Regions from separate parts of the Homo sapiens genome. Here region 1 is linked to region 2. The links are contacts of gene promoters, found by promoter capture Hi-C in blood cells and fetal thymus (Javierre and others, 2016). All regions are on one chromosome and are shown on one strand. Each heading gives the region's core, a stretch centred on a gene start or on the middle of the fragment in contact. The rest is flanking DNA. Distances are from core to core; before and after follow the strand shown.

Region 1 (2,827 bases), core at 111-2,610, 120 kb before region 2:
TAAATAGCTAACCTTACTTTTCTTTTGAGTTCGATCTTGGTGTGCATGGCTTTAAAAAAAAATCAAGTTACTTTTCAAAAAATTGCCTAAGTTATCTTTTTTCCTTACCAAGGGAATTATATTTACCTCAGAAATATTTTCAGATTTTAAAAATTTTGTTTACAAATATACTTTAATATTTAGCTCTTAGTATATCCCTGTCTGCCCTTTCTTTTCTGTTCTTAAGTGGAAAAGTGAAAGGATAGAAAGACTGGCTATAAAAACCTCACCTGGCTATTGTTTGGTTCTGGCCCTGTGTGGCCTGAGTTTACACAACATGAAAGTGATAGGGAGGCTGAGGAAAAATGTGAATCTTTTCCTTGTATTTTTGGATTAACGGGTGTGCCAAATACTGTGCTGATACTAATTTTAATAAAAGTGCTTTAATTGAATAAAATGTATCTCTTGTGTATGTATATAAACACTGGTTGATTTTGGACCACAAGTGAGAATATCATTCTACGAAATGAGACTTAGTACTAAAATGATATCCAACAATTAAGAAACAAAATAAAACAACTTTTGATTATTTTTCCATGTAAAAGAAGCAGACATCAAGATGTATCCACCAATGCCTTCTTAATACCACTAGTAAAATTTTAAAAGTCTTCTTATTTGAATACATTATCAGTTTTCCGAGTATTGCTGCCATTCTCTTGGGTAACTTTAACATTTGTACCACAGGTACCTTTGAGGGACCTACAGTGTAGCGGGGTAGAAAGACAGTAAATAAAAAAGTACACACAAATGCCATGAAAAAAACAGGGTATGAGGAGAAACAATACTTGGCAGAACATCATAAACAAGAGCTCTTTTTAAAGCTCTTTTCAATTTAGAAAGGCGATGTTAAATTATTCACAGATTGTATTTCCAAAACAAACACAGATGCTCAAAGAAAATACAGTGTAGAAAGACCCATCATGAAAAATCTGTATCAAGTTTGTAGGCTGTGTGTATTTTTGTTTTGGCATCTATATTATTAAGAAAAATCTGAATACCCAAGCCTGGCTACAGTATTTCTGTTTTAGGAAAGTAATGAATTGCAATGAGGAATTAAAGAAAGCAGCTAAATACCAAAGTGTTTTTATCACATAGATCCAATAGGTGGCACTATGCAACTAAAAATTAAGGCTGTATATACCTTACCAGCAGGCAAGAAAACAACCAAGATAATCATGCTACATTCATTACATGTAACTCTAATAACTTTTAACTGAACTTGCTTTTCTCAAAGAAACTTTTGATAATGGTTTAAAAATATTCCGGGCCAAGCAAAATACAAATAAACATGGAATACAAGACTATTTTATGCATACATTGTATAGAAACTACAGAATGTGCCACATTTACTAATTGCCAAGAAAAACTTATTTTTAAAGTTCCTAATCCTCTGCCGACTTTCCTTGAGTATATGTAGGGAAACAGAGGTACGGTTGGGATAGGGAGCCACAAAGTGGAGCAGGCAACCTAATGACAGCCTGTGAAGCAAAGAGAACAATGACACGAATGCCCTGCTGCCAGCGTCCAAGCCCACTCTCCACATTAGCCATCGTGGTGCAAAATAACAAAGCAACAGTGATGTCTGGTGTGTCCTGGCACACGGCAGTACACTGCGATGAAGAAAAATGATTTTCTAAAGCAAACGCCTAGCTTCCTGTTGGAACATCCTATCACAGGCATGGTGCTGGTAAAGGGCAGAGACAGAGTAGCCAAAGCCCAGATTTCAGAATACTCTGAATAAGTAATGTCATACCCACCCACACTCAGAACATTGCTGGGTGAAACTGGCCCCATCTCTCCTTTCTTCTCTCATTGGTCCACTACCCACTCTCCTTATCTTTCAGCACCGGAGTTCATGTAAGTTCTAATATACACACACAAACTCTTCAACCACCTACTTTCCCCTCTCTTTCTAACACTTATTCACTAATTTTAAAAAAAAACTTATTTTACATTTTCAATGTATACTTCTTCCTCCCCCTTTTTTTTCTCTCTTTATTTCCTTCATTAGAAGTATTCAGGAATGTAATCAGCATCCTAGGACTCTACAGTTGTCCCCACAGCACCAATATTCTACTTTACAAAGTGCCTGAAGGAAATACCTTGGCTAAGCAGTTACTGGTCATGGGAAAGAAATTTTTGCCTACAATGGGACCTAAATAAGATGAGAAGATTTAAGATAAGACCTGCCAAAATGTTATACAGTTTTCTAGCCTGATTAAGGATCATATTCAGCATCAACTTGTATTTCCCAGGAAATCACTGTAAATGTATCTCTCTAGCAGCAGTGATTTCCTATTGTCAATGTAACTTTGGCAAGCGGCTACTTCTTGGAATTGGAGTGCTGCTTATTCTTTGGAACTGTCTCAAGAGGAGGTCAGTTGGTAATTTGGATTAATTGGGGGATATAAGTAGAAGCATGGAAATGGTATGTGAAAAGATAATCCAGAACCTGTGATGAACAACTACCCTTTAAAAATGTTAAACATTCAGACTATTAGGCATGCTGGAAGATGAGCAGTCAGTCAGATTCCCAAAGGATTATGCCCAGAGGCGAAAAGGAAAAGAGTCTGTATCAACTGCATTTATTAAAGACATTTCCATGTGAAAGAGAAATGAGAAGCAGCTTATATGTGCTTTCTACTTTTAGCTTTACTGTATATGACATTTACCTGGCCTATATGGACAAAAAAGGTACAGTTCAATAGGCTATTTACCGTACAAGTGCTTTTTAGAGAGCAATACTATTCTATTTAGAATTTTTTAAATACATGTGAAATGAAAGAAT
Region 2 (2,756 bases), core at 150-2,649:
GCATTGTGACAGGAGGTACTCCTTATAATTTTCCTTTTGCAAACATTTATTCCTTGATTGAATCCACCACCACTACAGCTGCCCTCACTCACTGATTCACCAAAAATTGGGTCCATGATTATCTTGTTTTTATTAATCTTTCTTAAATGCATGTGTAGCTGACATTTATTTCCATGTTTAATATTAGAAGTGTTTTAATCTTATTTAAAAGTTTGGTGATGTCTTTGTGACCAGAAATAGACTGTAGTCACTTAACCTTGTTTTTATCAATTAGTCGATGGTAAAATTGGTTTTAAAGTCACAGTTTCCATGAACCTATCTGTGACGTTTTAAGTGAGGACTTACTGTATATAGTGCTTCTTAGTGCTGAAACAGGCAGCGTGTCTGGAAATTTTGTTTGGTACCACAAGTAACACAAACAAACTTTCCCAGGCTCTTCCTTATTTAGTATGTTTTTATGTGGATGAATGTTATGGAAAACAAAAGTATTATAGGAAAATTAAAATGTCCTTTTTGTACATTTTTGGCAGATTGTATTCAGATTTAAAACATTTAAATATTTGGAATATACAAAATCTGCTTTTATATTGGACCACCCAGATTCATGACATGGGATGACAAACTATAAAAATAAGAAACCTGTAGGTGACATTGTACATTTTATGCAGTTGACTAACTGTTGGGTTTGGGTTTAAGAAGATCAGCAGGTAGAAAGAAAACAAAACACGTTAAAATTTAACATACCCAAAACTATGCAATAGATGTAATTATAAGAATGTAGTTTCCAGGAGAAAAATTCATATTCATTTTCTCTCTTTCTCTCTCCCTTTCTGTCTCTTCTCTTCCCCTTTCTCTAAATATATGGTTCAGAAAGGTACTTTTCAGAGCTGGAGGTTTATTAACAAAAAGTTTGTGCTTTCTTTTGTTTCCTCTTATAGGAATAATTCAGCAGAATGCAGACAGAAAAGTAGTAATTTAACTCATTTTAACTCTTTTTTGTCTATTCCATTCATAAATGTGGCAAGTCTCAAAACATTTATTTGAGAGAATCTAATCCTCTAGTAGTTGAATTCCCAACGCTCCTATTTTAGGACGTCATTCATGGCGTGGAGATTAAACCTTCATGTGTCCTTTACTATTTACAGAATTATTAAATGTAAGTTTTTCAATCATACTTATACCATTAACTGCTTGGATTTAATCTGTTAGTGCAAGATAACTTTGGCTCTCCCTTCCGTCCTCCTTTCCCTTATCTCGCCCCACGTGAGGACATTCTCCTGTGTGTGAAGCTGCTTTCCTTTCCTCGAAGGTGGGCCGAGCAAAGGAGAGTGACGCAAGAGTGGGCTGTGTCCTGGATGCTGCGAGCGCCTCTGCCTCCTTGAGAATGAGCCCATTAGCCGCACAAATTCGCAGCAGGCGGCTGGGGCGGCGGCTGGGGCAGCGGCTGCAGCAGCGGCGGACGCTCTGCATTACCCAGTCTTGCGTCCTCGGCAGGCGCCCGAAGCTGAGTGCGCATCCTCTACCGCACCCAAGCTTCGTCTGTCTCGTCAAGCTCTTCATGCTGCCCAACTAAAAGGAAAACATGGGCACAGGGGATTTTATCTGCATTTCCATGACTGGAGGGGCGCCCTGGGGGTTCAGATTGCAAGGTGGCAAGGAGCAGAAGCAGCCCTTACAAGTTGCAAAGGTAGGACCTGAACGAAGTGTCACGGCTCTGTGCTAGGAAGGAAGGAATGAAAGCAACCTGCTGATGGTGTTTTCAGGTTCTGATGCAGAAGTCTAAGTATTATTTGATTTTGCTGCGGATATTAAGATTTTTCTAGGAAGTGAGTTATTTTCTAAGAAACTTTGGAGAGTAATGGGCCACATCCTATGTAATTAACTTGCAATCGATGAGGGGTGGGTGGGAAGAATGCCATATTTATCAGCTGAGGAAAAGGCCTAGTTAACCATGTTCTTCTGACAACAAGCAAGACACTGGGGAGCGTTTCTTCCAGGCAATTTTAGAATGTTCAGTTGAGTTATTGTTTGATGTCACTTCACTTGGCTCTGGCAGAGGAGAAACGCTCAGTTCAGCATAACGACTTTGCTTGGCTATTTTGGGGACTCATATAGAGTGTTGGTAGTGACATTTATTATGCAGCATTCATGAAAAGGCCAATGTTGGGCAATAATTTTAAAAGTATGATGAAGTGTCATAAAATCTATTTAAAAGAATACCCTTTTAAGGATTTGACAAATAAATGCAAAAATCCAATAAATGCTGTATTCCTTCTTATGTACTCTTTTGGTCAAGATCTCAAAAATAAACTTAGAAGATAATCTAAATATATTATGAGTAACTAAGAGGTAACTTTGTAACACATTAATAACTATTTAAAATGCTTTAAGTTTTTATTGCCATTAGATTGCCTGCATTACTGGTTAGCCCAAGGGGATCTGGTATTCTCTAATTGGCATTCAGCTAAAATAAAACTTAAAATGCACAAAACTAAGCAAACTTTTACCTAACCTTATCATCAAATTGCAAATTATAGTATTGTATTGAAGAACATGCAAGAGCATGGGATTAATTTCCTATTTTATGCTTATATTAAAAATGGGTACAGATCTTTATGAAATACATGGGCCATTGCCTTTGTAGTTATTGTTTGTTTCCCTCTGGCTTTTACTCTTTTTTTTTTGTAGTTATTGTTTCCCTCTGCCTTTTACGTTTTTTTTTTTTTAGTGTCCTTTGCGAAGAAAGAAGTTTCTTT

The links. The method cuts DNA at HindIII sites, captures the fragments that hold promoters and counts their contacts. A CHiCAGO score of 5 or more calls a contact.
Region 1: a contact is called between a fragment that was not itself captured here and the fragment with the promoter of SYNPO2 in region 2, in 2 of 17 cell types (total CD4 T cells and naive CD4 T cells). The highest score is 5.7, in total CD4 T cells.

The regions. Positions count from the first base shown.
Region 1 is chr4:118,771,122-118,773,948 of GRCh38, forward strand. The region is part of intron 8 of SEC24D (SEC24 homolog D, COPII component); the gene reads right to left. Among named protein-coding and RNA genes, the nearest start is that of SEC24D, 64 kb to the right of the region's middle. The HindIII fragment of the contact is 3,044 bases long and covers 1-2,827 here.
Region 2 is chr4:118,887,455-118,890,210 of GRCh38, forward strand. SYNPO2 (synaptopodin 2) reads left to right here and starts at 1,400. Exons shown (of 5, transcript NM_133477.3): 1 at 1,400-1,687. The coding sequence starts at 1,583. The HindIII fragment of the contact is 15,302 bases long and covers 1-1,531 here.